Linked DNA regions of Homo sapiens: regions 1 and 2 are each linked to region 3. Evidence: promoter capture Hi-C in 16 types of primary human blood cells and fetal thymus (Javierre and others, 2016). All regions are on one chromosome and are shown on one strand. Each heading gives the region's core, a stretch centred on a gene start or on the middle of the fragment in contact. The rest is flanking DNA. Distances are from core to core; before and after follow the strand shown. Region 1 holds the start of CDC27 (cell division cycle 27). Region 2 holds the start of MRPL10 (mitochondrial ribosomal protein L10). Region 3 holds the start of UBE2Z (ubiquitin conjugating enzyme E2 Z).

Evidence for each region. The method cuts DNA at HindIII sites, captures the fragments that hold promoters and counts their contacts. A CHiCAGO score of 5 or more calls a contact.
Region 1: the fragment with the promoter of CDC27 here is called in contact with the fragment with the promoter of UBE2Z in region 3 in 1 of 17 cell types (neutrophils); the score reaches 10.0 in neutrophils.
Region 2: a contact is called between the fragment with the promoter of MRPL10 here and the fragment with the promoter of UBE2Z in region 3, in 1 of 17 cell types (non-activated CD4 T cells). The highest score is 8.7, in non-activated CD4 T cells.

The regions. Positions count from the first base shown.
Region 1 is chr17:47,187,418-47,191,644 of GRCh38, forward strand. It overlaps CDC27 (cell division cycle 27), which reads right to left and starts at 1,878. Exons shown (of 19, transcript NM_001256.6): 1 at 1,729-1,878. The coding sequence starts at 1,755. It also overlaps a transcript of MYL4 not described here. RefSeq lists a silencer at 1,403-1,452 and enhancers at 1,486-2,082, 1,613-1,802. The HindIII fragment of the contact is 9,297 bases long and covers 1-4,227 here.
Region 2 is chr17:47,828,285-47,832,835 of GRCh38, forward strand. It overlaps MRPL10 (mitochondrial ribosomal protein L10), which reads right to left and starts at 3,257. Exons shown (of 5, transcript NM_145255.4): 1 at 3,176-3,257; 2 at 217-386. The coding sequence starts at 3,227. It overlaps LRRC46 (leucine rich repeat containing 46), which reads left to right and starts at 3,386. Exons shown (of 8, transcript NM_033413.4): 1 at 3,386-3,715; 2 at 3,816-3,921. The coding sequence starts at 3,706. RefSeq lists enhancers at 1,839-2,670, 2,671-3,500 and silencers at 2,963-3,022, 3,263-3,422. The HindIII fragment of the contact is 9,003 bases long and covers 554-4,551 here.
Region 3 is chr17:48,906,976-48,911,398 of GRCh38, forward strand. It overlaps UBE2Z (ubiquitin conjugating enzyme E2 Z), which reads left to right and starts at 1,432. Exons shown (of 7, transcript NM_023079.5): 1 at 1,432-1,845; 2 at 3,833-3,905. The coding sequence starts at 1,529. It overlaps LOC105371814 (a long non-coding RNA gene), which reads right to left and starts at 2,008. Exons shown (of 4, transcript NR_135674.1): 1 at 1,964-2,008. RefSeq lists silencers at 1,571-1,820, 2,091-2,220 and enhancers at 3,094-3,143, 3,164-3,213. The HindIII fragment of the contact is 3,469 bases long and covers 860-4,328 here.

The sequences.
Region 1 (4,227 bases), core at 628-3,127, 1.7 Mb before region 3:
AGCCTCCCAAGTAGCTGGGATTACAGGCGCCCACCACCACGCCTGGCTAATTTTTTATATTTTTAGTAGAGACAGGGTTTCACTGTGTTGGCCAGGCAGGTCTCGAACTCCTGACCTCAGGTGATCCACCCGCCTCAGCCTCCCAAAGTGCTGGGATTTCAGGTGTAAGCCACCACGCCCGGCCTTCCATGCTTTTATAAAGTCTGAAATTATTATTAAATGGTGGTTATAGTCTATCAATGCAACTAGTTTATCACTTTAGAAGACTTCTGGGGCCAGAGAAGGCAAAAAAAAAAAAATCATTAACTATTAAAACAAAATTATAAGAATATGCAACAGAAATTAAATAACTTGAGTAATCTGCTTATCTATTTAAGTTCATGTTAGGCCTTAAAAAATTATATATATATAATTACCTCATCTACAGCCAGAATAAAAAAAAATCTTAAAAGAAACTATACTGGTAAAAAGAATTTGGATGGAAATAGCTCTAGAAAAACTAATACAACTTACAGACAGGTAAATTTCATAAGATATAATCTTACGTTTTATTAATTCAAACACTAATAGCTGCTATATGTAAACAGCTGGAGAAAAAAACCAAACTAGAAGAAATGAGTATTTCATGCTGTTTAGAAAAATGAAATAAATATGAAAGTAGTGATATATTAAAATATTTACTGTTTGATACCTCAAGCCTTTTAAGGGCAATATGAAGGAATTTCTAAAAATCAGTTTGCTTTATAACTTCAAAATAAAGTCCATGACTCAATGACAGCAGTTGATAGAGGTCAATTCTGATCAAGTTAAAGATCATATAGTGGGATGAAGTCTCCCAGACCTGGTCCATTACCAAGGCACAAAAGATACAGTTTCTCCAGATGTCAGGGGGGAAAATGACTTGGCACCGCATCACACACTTAAAATCCAATAGGGTTCCTTTAATGCAACACAGCACTGTGCGTCAAAGCATACCCTGGTGTAAAGGCAGTGAAATGGACAGAAACACCATTATTTGTGTTTCATTTCCTGAATGCCTTATAAACATGCACAACAAAATGCTCCTGATCCCCATCAGAGAGGATGAAAACAACCCAAATGTGCCCTTTCCACCTCCTCCCCTGGTATTGGTGCTTGCGCCTCAGCACTGAGGCTTGGAGTTGTCTTCTCAAACCATCATTGTCCGGTGGGAAATTCACCGAGAAAGGAAACGTGGGATAGGAAGTCTGTTACCAAAATAGAAATTAGTATTAAAAAGACCGATCCTACGCTCCCTCCACCCTCTCATACAAGACAAAATAAAAAAAACCTCCGTAAACTTGCCCTACCGTCACGAAGATCACACAAGCTCCGATCAAATGTGCTTCTCGATCATCTTTTAGGCAAGAGAGCGCTTGGGGTGCATTTTCGGCCCCTCATCTCCCACCCCCAGTCAAGCCAGGCCCCTGGACTGACAGGAAAGGCTGGCCGGACGTTGGCTCGGACGGGAAAGGCGGTTATTTTCGCCGAAGCCGCTCACGCTAAGGGTGAAGTAATGTAGGGCCAGAGGTAACACGGCTTAGGCTGTGGGCAAGGCCTCCGAACTGACTAAAGATAGGCAGGACACGGCAGCAGGGGAGGCGGGAGAAGCAGCCGGGCCTAGGCCGCACCAGGCCGCGGAGTGGCCCTACGCTGCTGCTTCCCGACCGAGGCTGCCAGCCAAGCCCCAGAGAAGAAGGTTATCATTACCTGGACGGGTTCCTGCAGCACCGTCATCCTCGAGGCTCAGGCCCACTTTCTGCAGTGCCTCAGGCCCCCCCTGTAGCGGCTCCGGCCCGGCCAGCCCCTGCTCATTTAAACTCACCAGCGACCGTTACCGGGGGATGGGGGAGGCCGAGCGATTGCCGAGTGCTTCCGAGCGGGACACGGGAATACCCGAAGTGGAGAAAGCCGAGCGGGAACCAGACGGAAAAGCCCGAAGGGAGTCGGAAATACCCGAGGTTGGTCGACGAGAGAGAAAACCGTTGCCGGAAATTGTCGAAGATTACCGGAAGCTACCGAGTCTGACCCAAAGCGTAGGTTTCTCTTCTCAGCCACGCCTTCAGCCACGCACACCACGCCCAATCGGCCGTCCCAGGGTTGGGCTACGCCAAATCTGCAACCAGCAGGCTGGGCGTGGCGTGACAGCGCGGGCGGGTAGCGTTACGTGGCGGGGCTGCAGTGTGGATTAGCCCCTCAGCCCTTTTGGATTAATTGGTGTGCTGTAGATTATGAAGCAAAGGGTGAAACAGCAGAGTTTGGGGCTGTCTTTAATGAATCAACAAGTATTTGTCTATTGAGTTTAGATCATTCGTCCATTCCAGAAGTATCTACTCACGGCTCTGGGGGAAAGCTAAAGAAATTTGGAAAGATTGCCACTCCCCAAAGACATAGGATAGCTTCTGTCTTCAAGGAGATTAAGGTCTATTTAAGGGAAAAGCAGTGTAACAGAGAACGCTATATTATATGGTGCCTATTATAAGTAATATAAAAATTCAGAGAGGGCAATTGTGATAAGATAAGGAAAGTTCTATGGAAGGAAAAAAAAGTTTAAAATGGAGTTTGAAGGATGGGTAAAATTAGAGGAAAAAGAAGTATAGGAAAGTGAAGGGAGGAAAAATGGGATCAGTCTGCTAAGAAGGCATTAATTGGAAATAGTTACTTAGGTGAAGAGATCATGGAAAAGCTCAATAGGCCATTAGAAATTTTTATTTTTGATAGGTGAGGCATTCCGCTGTGGTGGGAAGAGTAGGGGGTCGGAAATTCAGAGGCCTGGTTTTGAATTTTATCTTTAGCACTAACTAGTCATAGGTCCTTGGCAAATTACCTCTCTGAACTTATGTTCGCTTAGTTTGAAAAAAAAGGATTAAGAGAATTCGATGTATTATAAATGTGGCCGTGTCTAGCATGCAATGTAGACTCTCTCATATTTCCTTTCTGCTCCCCTTCTCCCCCCAAAAAGAGTGAACCAGGGGACTGTTTAAATTTTGTTTTTCAGCAGATGAGGAAACAGTTTTTGAAAGTTACTTTTCTAGTCAGGAGCTCTCTAGGCTAGATGTGAGAATCATGATATATTCCATTGCTTGGAAATTTCCCTTTGGGTGATGTTAGAGGGAGATATTTTTTCTTTCATTTTTAAAAACAAGGCTGACAGAGCTACACTGCATCCTTCTCCACCGCCTTGTCTTGTCACTGTATATATACTTATAGCCCCTAAAGGGCAGGTGCTAAGATGATTTTTGGCTGCCCTGTGCCCAGTTGCTTTAGCGGGATTATGCTGGATGACTTGAGTGGTAACAGACTTTTACACTGGCCTGGAAAGTAGCCATTAGCTATTTAAAGTTTAAGTTAAAATGAAATTAAAAATGAAGTTCTTCAGATGCCCTAGCCACATTCCAAGGATTCAGTAGCCCTGTATGTGGCTAGTGACTGCCATATTGGACAGTCACACAGATATAGAAGAACATCACCAGCACTGGCTTGGCTAGGGCTGAAAGATTCAAGATGGCTTCACTCACATGTCTAGGGTGTCAGTGGTAGCTATTGGCTGGGTCCTTCATTTCTTCTCTGCATGACCTCTCTTTTCACACTGGCCTCTTATGAGTCAGTAGTTTAGCTCCAGCTTCTTGACTTGGTGGTTGACAACAAAGTGCGCAAAAATAGAAGCTGTGAGGTCCCTTAGGCCTAGGCCTGTGAGCATCACTTCTTGTTGGTCAGAGTAAGACTCAGAGCCACCCTGGATTCACCAGGAGGAATAGTCTACTTCTTAATGGGAAGAGTGGCAAAGTAACACCACAAAGGGCGTGTGCCATGGGAGGAGTTTTTGGGTCATCTTTGGAAACAATCTACCACGCTAGATATGAGATGAGAGTATCTAAGATTGGGAATGGAAAGAAAGGGATAAGTAAGAGCTATCACTCTTAAAATGTGACCCTTTCAACTGAACACAGTACTCCAGATTTATTCTGAATAATTCAGAATGCAGTTGGACTATTATTATCTGGACACGTCTATTAAAGTGGACTACAGTTGTATTTACATTTTTTTTTTCCGAGACTGAGTCTTGCTCTGTTGCCCAGAGCTGGAGTGTAATGGCGCAATCTCGGCTGACTGCGTCCTCCGCCTCCGGGGTTCAAGCAATTCTCCTGTCTCAACGTCCCGAGTAGCTGGGATTGCAGGTGCGCACCACCACGCCCGGTTAATTTTTGT
Region 2 (4,551 bases), core at 2,007-4,506, 1.1 Mb before region 3:
AAGAAGGAAATTCAGGAGGCCCACCCAATCCAGAGCCCAAAAGCCAATACAGAATCAAGTGCGGATTTCATCTTAAAATATCTGGATCAGGCAGTCAAACTGAAATAATGACGTGCATGACAATGGCTGAGTGTCCTACTTCACTATGGCCAGAGACAAGATTACTTTAATCCACCATCCCACCACCAAGTGACATGTACCCAAATTCCTCCTTACCTCCTGTGGGGGGCTGGGAGGAGATGGCAGGCATGATGGGTGGATGGCTGGTTTCGGGGGGATATATTCAGTCACAGCCATCAGCTTCTGCCGCTGAAAGTGCATCACACGACGGTGGCGGGTAACAGCCTTGGAGCCATAGCGGACAGTCTGGAGGGTAGGCAGCCGGCCTGGGAGGGCATATAGCAACATGGTTAGAGGCAACCTCCTGGAGGCCCTAGTTTATCCCAAATGGAGAAAAAACACACCCTCTAGCAGAGAAAAGCACAGCTCACAGAGCTAGACTCAACACAAGAGTGGGACAAGGAATTGTCTGACAAAAGTCCTGAATTTCCAAAGCTTCTCTTTCAGTAAGTGACCCGAGGTCAATTACTTAATCTCTTGAGGCTACCATTTCTCTAGCTCTTCTCAATGTGCAGAAATGTGAGAAAAAAATGAGAACAAAGGAGAAAATATTTTGAACACATTAAGAAAAGTGGGGGCTGAGTGTGGTGGCTGACACCTGTAATTCCAGCACTTTGGTAGGCCGAAGCGGGCGAGATCACTTGAGGTCAGGAGTTTGAGACCAGCCTGGCCAACACAGTGAAACCCCATCTCTACTAAAAATACAAAAATTAGCCAGGTGTGGTGGTGTATACCTGTAATCCCAGCTACTTGAGAGGCTGAGGCAGGAGAATCGCTTGAACCCGGGAGGTGGAGGTTGCAGTGAGCCGAGATCATGCCACTGCACTCTAGCCTGGGCACAGAGTAAGACTCCGTCTCAGAAAAAAAAAGAAGGAAGGAAGGAAGGAAGGAAAGAGAGAGAGAGAGAGAGAAAGAAAAAGGGGATAAGGTTAAATAAACTTTTTCTTAAAATGGTCAAACAGTAAATATTTTAAGTTTGGGGCCCATGTAATCTGTCTCTAATGCTCAACTCTGCCAAAAGCAGCCACAGACAATATTTAAAGAGACAGCAGAAACTATGTACCAATAGAATTTTATAAAACACAGTGACTGGCCCTGCCATAATACGCCAACCCCTGGTCTAATCTAGTGGCTCTCAAGGTATGCCCCACCTCCACCCCAACCAGCAACATCAGCATCATTTGAGAGCTTGTTAGAAATTTTGCTGGGTGTGGTGGCTCACGCCTGTAATCCCAACACTTTGGGAGGCCAAGGTGGGCAGCTCACTTGAGGTCAGGAATTCAAGACCAACCTGGCCAACATGGTGAAACCCCGTCTCTAACTAAACTACAAAAATTAGCCAGGCGTGGTGGCACACACCTGTAGTCCCAGCTACTCAGGTGGCTGAGCCATGAGAATTGCTTGAACCCAAGAGGCAGAGGTTGCAGTGAGCCGAGATTGTGCCATTGCACTCCGGCACTCCGGCCTGGGTGACAGAGCAAGACTGTCTCAAAAAAAAAAAAAGAAAGAAAGAAAGAAAAATAAACATAAATTCTCAGGCCCTGCCTAGACCTACTGAATCAGCAATTCTGGGGTGGAGCCTAGCAAATAGTGTTTTTTGTTTGTTTTGTTTTGTAGAGACCAGGTTTCACTATGTTACCAAGACGGGTCACAAATAGTGTTCTAACAAGCCCTCCTGGTGATGCTGACGCATGCTAAAGTTTGAAAACCACCACTCTAACCGCTGCTCTGACACCCTGTCCTATGATTTGAAGAGGAGAAAAAAATGTTACACCATTCTCACAGCTCTCAGACAAGTTTCTCTTTCCTCCTCTCTTCCTGTTTACAGATAATGCTACAGAGCACCCCACAGAAAACAAGGGAGGCACTCAAAAGCCCTGAGACAAAGTGACCACTTAATCCTCAACACAAGGGCCAAGACTAGAACTTCCCACTTTCAGTCATTTCCAAGACTGGGATGTGACCTCAGAAAAAGGTCCAGATAGAAGGCGGCTCTAACAGTCAGAGAGTATGGATATTTGCTGGGGTAAGAGGTCTTATTGCCAGCAGCCACAAAACCTAACTGTTAAGACTGCAGGCAGGCTTTGGAATCAAATTAAACTGGATTTTTTTTTTTTTTGAGATGGAGTCTCGCTCTGTTGCCCAGGCTGGAGTGCAGCAATGCGATCTCGGCCCACTGCAACCTCTGCCTCCTGGGTGTAAGCGATTCTCACGCCTCAGCCTCCTGAGTAGCGGGGACTACAGGCACGCGCCACCACACCCGGCTCATTTTTGTATTTTTAGTAGAGTTGGGGTTTCGCCATGTTGGCCAAGCTGGTCTCAAATTCTTGACCTCAGGTGTTCCCTCCGCCTCAGCCTCCCAAAGTGCTGGGATTACAAGCGTGAGCCACCGCGCCCAGCCGAAACTGGATTTTAATCTCTCTTCCGCCAATTACTAGCTGTGACCTTGGCCACCCAACTGGTCTGAACTTCAGTTGCTGCGTCTGTAAAGAGGAGATGCGAATGTCTTTCTCACAGGGTGCTTTAGATTTAAATGATTTAAAAGATTTAAATGAGCTAACACATATAAAAATAGTTATCACAGTGCCTGGCCTATATTAAGTGCTCAAATCCATTCACTAAACAAATATCTACCGCACGCTTACTAACATCCAGCACCATGCCACCTGCTGGCTATGCTGAATGAACATGGTTCTGCCCTTGCGGAGTTTAATAGAGGAAACAAGCAACTAAACAAATGCAAAATTACAGATTGCGACGGGGCTAAGGAGTCAAGGGAAGACCTGAGGTGACATTTAGACTGACACATTAAGATGGAGACATAATGCAAAGGTCTGGGCGAGGAGTGGTCCAGGCAAAAGAAACGCTGGAGACAGACAACATCTGGACGTTGTTGCTGTGATTACCAGTCGAGTCACAAGGAACTGGACGGGGTAAGGAGGCCAGCGATCTAGCTGGGGTCAGAGATTATGGGAAGAATCAGTAGTAGAGGAGGGCAGATGAGGACTAGAGAGCGGCCGCAAGACACGCCGTGAGGACCTGGGCCACTCCTTACCCGCCTGGGGCAGGAGACCCCCTCGCAGCATCCCCGCCACGGCCGCAGCCATCTCCACCGGAAGAATGGACGGAAGCCGAGTGGAGACGGAAAGAGCTAAGGATTGTGGGGTAGCGAACCCCGGGGCCGGAAGCAGTGGGCGTACCCGCCGGCTGTAGCCGTAAGACGCATGCGCTAGGCCGGGCCAACGGAGCCCGCCTTTACCTCCCCACTCGGCGTCCAGTCTCTTAGCAACGACTCCGGCTTCCTAGGAACTGCTCCTTTCTCAACCATTCCTGCCCACAACACCCCAGCTTGCTGCCAGCAAAGCCCCTCCACACCCCTCAAACTCCAGACCCTTCACATCAATTTACTGTTTTCTTCGACCTCACCCCAGCAATTTTCTCTGAATCAACCCCCTTTCCTCCTCTCCTAAGTCTCTGAGTTTCTCTCTCCTCCTGCCATCCTGAGTTCTGCCATCCTTAGGGGCCGCCAAGACCTCTCTTTTCGTTCCTCTCCCGCCTCAGACCAGCAGCCTTTTATTTTAGATCATGTCTGGAGGTGAGTAGGGAGGTGGGACGGTGGGTAGAGCAGTTGGAAAACAGCGGGGTAAGGCCTCCAAGAGTGAGGAAGTGTCACAGTTGGACTCATCTTTTCACAGGGAAGTCAGCCCAGGGTCCAGAGGAAGGGGGCGTCTGCATCACTGAAGCCCTTATCACTAAGCGGAACTTGACTTTCCCTGAAGATGGGGAACTGTCAGAGAAGATGTGAGTGCATGGGGGAGAAAAGGGGTGCTAGAAGGCTGAAACACTCAGGATGACCAGGTCCCTGACGTGTACTGATTTGTCAACTGATCTTTGTTTCTCTCCTTACTCCACACATTCAATCAGTGGTAATGCCCAGCTGATTTTCCCTTCTTCAAAATAATTCCATTTCTTTTTCACCATCCTCACTCAACTGTCTTAGATAAGGCCGTGTTCACCTCTCTCCTACACACCCACCACTTTGGGAGGCTGAGGCAGGAGGATCACTTGAGCCCAGGAGTTTGAGACCAGCCTGGGCAATAGAGACAGAATCCTATCTCTAAAAAATAAAAATAAACTAGCTGAGCATGGTGGTGCACACCTGTAGTCCTAGGTGGCTGAGACAGGAGGATCACTTGAACCCAGGTACCTGTGGCTGCAGTAAGCTATGATCATGCCATTGCATGCCAGCCTGGGCAACAGGGTGAGACCCTATTTCTAAAACAAACAAAAAGTAAAGTATTTTTAATTACTTTTTTAGAGATGGGGTCTTGCTCTGTTGGCCAGACTGGTCTTGAACTCCTCAAACAATCCTCCCACTTCAGCCTCCTGAGTAGCCAAAGTGATCCTTTTAAATAACAAATCTAATCAGGC
Region 3 (4,423 bases), core at 182-2,681:
CTGAAATACATCTGGCCCCACTGGTTTCCAGTTAATATTGATCCTATATTTTTGCTAGGGAAAAAAGTTTTTGTTTTTGTTTTGAGACGGAGTCTTGCTCTGTCGCCCAGGCTGGAGTGCAGTGGCACGATCTCCGCCCACTGCAAGCTCCGCCTCCCGGGTTCACGCCATTCTCCTGCCTCAGCCTTCCGAGTAGCTGGGACTACAGGCGCCCGCCACCACGCCCGGCTAATTTTTTGTATTTTTAGTAGAGACGGGGTTTCACAGTGTTAGCCAGGATGGTCTTGATCTCCTGACCTAGTGATCCGCCCGCCTCAGCCTCCCAAAGTGCTGGGATTACAGGCATGAGCCACCGCGCCCGGCAAGGAAAAACAGTTTTTTAGGAAGGCCCCTGTCATTCTTAGTCCATAGGAATTTTTTTTTTTTTTTTTGAGACGGAGTCTGGCTCTGTCGCCCAGGCTGGAGTGCAGTGGCGTGATCTCAACTCACTGCAAACTCCGCCTCCCGGGTTCAAGTGATCCACCTGCCTAAGCCTCCTGAGTAGCTGGGACTACAGGTGCACGCCACCACGCCCGGCTAATTTTTGTATTTTTAATAGAGGCGGGGTTTCACCATGTTAGGCTGGTCTCGAACTCCTAACCTCGTGATTCGCCCACCTCGGCCTCCCAAAGTGCTGGGATTACAGGCGTGAGCCACCGAGCCTGGCAGATTATTTTTCACTTTAAACATTTTAGGAAAGACCCAAAGAATCCTCAGGGTTTACACTCACAGTACCTCGATTCCTGTATATTCCAAGATTTGTGGGAAGAAAAAGTACTAAGCTTGGAGTCAGGAGGCCTGATGTTTCTTCCTTTCACCAAGCTTCTCTAGTTCTGTTTCATTATCCCCATGGCAACAACTAGCAACAGTGACTGGCATTTAGTAGGCCCTTCATAAATATATGTTGAATAAACTCTAAAAGAGGTAGCTTTTCATTCCAAGTTGAGTTCTCTCTTGGTCCTGTTGCAGGCAAGGGCAATGGTACCCTGCCCTAGGTGCACAAGTGTGCAGGAGGGATCAATCGCAGAGCCTTTCCGAGAGAAGGGGCCCAAAGCGAGTCAACTTCTCTACTGAGCTTCCCATGAGGATGCTGGATCCCCAATCCTAACCATGCAGACGTCTGAGGGTCGCCGCCATTAACGGGAATGATATGGCCCTTCCTCCCCCACTCCCTCCTCTCTTCTCCCCTTTCAACACTTGAATTGGGCTCTCCGCTACTTCCGCACAGCGCAGGACCCACACGAGCCCAGAACCATCACGGCCTGCTAGTTCCCACCCCTCCCGTCCTGGAGGACCGTAGGTGGACGCTCTTGCAGAGCGCCTCTCGCTGGTTGGGGCGGGGGTGGGCGGAGCCAGCACCGTCTGGGCTGTGGAAGCGGAGGGGGTGGGGACACTCTGGCCCGGTTCTCGGTGGTGCGGGAGCGGGCGGGAGCAGCGGCCGCTCTGGTCGGCGGACGTGCTGCCGAGTAGTCCCGGAAGCGAAGCAGCGATGGCGGAGAGTCCGACTGAGGAGGCGGCAACGGCGGGCGCCGGGGCGGCGGGCCCCGGGGCGAGCAGCGTTGCTGGTGTTGTTGGCGTTAGCGGCAGCGGCGGCGGGTTCGGGCCGCCTTTCCTGCCGGATGTGTGGGCGGCGGCGGCGGCAGCGGGCGGGGCCGGGGGCCCGGGGAGCGGCCTGGCTCCGCTGCCCGGGCTCCCGCCCTCAGCCGCTGCCCACGGGGCCGCGCTGCTTAGCCACTGGGACCCCACGCTCAGCTCCGACTGGGACGGCGAGCGCACCGCGCCGCAGTGTCTACTCCGGATCAAGCGGTGAGCCGGGGTTTTTCCTCCCCCAGCCCCGAGCTCCGGGGCTCGACCTTCCCCGCCCCCCACCCTCTCCCACTACAACTCACCCCCCACCCACTGCGCTGCCCTCGCGGCGGCCCACCTCCACGGCCCAAATCTTGCCAGCTCCGGGCGTCGGGATCCAACTCCCTTCTCCCCCCACCCTCAGACCCGCAAGCACCAACCCCCGCCTCGTGTGCCCAGATCCGACCCCGCCCCTCGACAACCTCCCGTGAGCCCTCCGTCTCCATTCCGGCCACCCTCCCCCACACCTCCCACCTCCGGGTGGAAACCCGACCCTTTAGCGCTTCAGTAACGCCCCCTCCCGCCTTCGGCGCCGCCCCTATTTCCCCTTCCCCACCCCAACCTTGCTAGATGCTGCCCGCAGGCCCCACCCATCGGTCCCCTCTCTTCTCCTCTGGAGCCCCGTTCCTAACACAGACGAACTCAGCTTCCTTTGCCATGCCTCTGACTCGAGCCAACCTTTCTTTTTATCCTCCGTTTTTCTCAGATTCCCTCCACACAGTCTTTTCCCAGGTCTAGATCGCTTCCCTCGCCCCAATCTTTCCTTGAACCCCTTTTCCAGTGTCCCAAAGCTGTCCACTCTTACGCCTCTTCCAGAAACACAGGCTACCTCCCCCCAATTCCCCAGTGCCACTCTGGATTGTAATATCCCACTCAGGAGCTTCTTTCTTGTAATTTCCCTCCCCCCACCCCCCACCCTCCCCGGGTCGTCTGTTTTACTTCTATGAAGCAAATATACTCATCAAATATAGGAACAAAGGCCTAAGTCCTTTCTGTGCTTATTTCTTGGGTGACTGATCTTAGATCCTATCATTTAGTAGATGATGTTTTCCAGAAGCACATAGAATAGTACCTATCGCATAAGAAAAGGGCAGTGCTCTTTAGCTATTAATCCTGAAACCTGTTTGACTTCTCCCCATGCCCCCATCACAAGCATCTTCGTTTAGTTCTTATTCCCCATGTTCCACGTCCTTTCAGATGTCTCTGTGTCTACTTTTCAAGGTTGTAATAAAAATTAATATAATGTGTGTAAAGTACCTGGCACAGTGCCTGACACAGGAGGTCAACTGTGGAGGGATTGCCACCTCTAACTGAAACTCAGCACTCAACTCTTTTCCTCCTCCAGCCATTTCAGTCATCCAATTCTGACATACCTTTGAGTTTGGCCAATGCTTTCCTCTGCTTTGTCGCCTATTTGCCCTTTTTATGTCCCTACCCACCCTAGCAAGTCCCTAGGCTTTTCGCCACCTAGAATGTTCTTTAGCCCCTTGCTCTCAACTGATCCATTCCAGTTGGTGAGATATGAGTCAGAAATCTTATCTCCTATGGAAGTCCACATGTCATCTTCCAGATGGGAGATTCTTAGCAATTTCTGAGGATCCCTCCCCAGCCTGAAGAGATCTCTACCCTGAGACACCCCTGGGCAAGAAGGCCACCATGATAGTCTTACTCTCTGCTGGCTGGCTTGCTTCATACAATCCCCTTACCAATAAAGGTCCACTGTATAGTTTATAGAATTAGTTTTTTAGTGGAGTTGATGATGCCTTTCCAGTTACTAAAAAATCTTCATTTAGCATTCAGTCGTAGTACCTGGGAATCATGGAGGTGGGGAGTGAATGAATTGCCATGTGGGAGGAAGTGAGAGTAAGTGGAAAGTGGCTTTTCCAGGCTGACATTTGATGCCATTGGGATCTCTGATTTTTTTCCTCTCTCCCTCCCCTCCCCCTGAGGAAACAATGCCCTTTTGATAATAATTTGCTCTCTGCCTGCCTGACAAGTACTCAGCTGAGATTTCTCAGCCAACAAGACAGTACAAACACTTGCGGTACCAAGCACCACTTTCTCAAACCCTGGCCTCATTGAGGTGATAACAACTGTCCTGCTCAAGGGATTCCCCCTTTCCCCCTCTTCCTCACTCCTTCCCCCACCTCCTCTTGGTGTTATACAGGGATATCATGTCCATTTATAAGGAGCCTCCTCCAGGAATGTTCGTTGTACCTGATACTGTTGACATGACTAAGGTATGTAACTTGATGGGGGTTTGGGGGGTTTTGGGAAATTGGGGGCCATAAGGTTGCAAAAGCCTAAAAGAGATTATTCAGCTCACCTCTCCGATTACACAGATGAAGAAATCAAGACCCCAGGAGAGTAAGTGGCTTGTCCAAGGTCACATAGTGAGGTGGAGCAGCACTTTGAAGAGGTGTCTGTTATTAGTGTACCCCATAGGTACTGATTGGCTTGGAAAATCCCAGTTCATGTCTGTTGTCGCAGCTTGACTATTTATAGGGCATTCTTTCACTCTCAAAAATGCTCCTGTTTGGATAATAAATTATATGGTCACCCTATCCATTGTACTACCCAGCTCTTCCCCCATCCCGTTACTCTTGACATTAACTATGCTATGGTACTATAAATCAGATGTAGGGAAGGTTGGGAATAGGGCAAGCTTGACTGAAGTGTTTGTGGTTAAAGGACTTTGCTCAGGATCCTGTCCTTACTGGTTGCGTTTAAGTATCCCTTCCACCCCAAAGACTATACC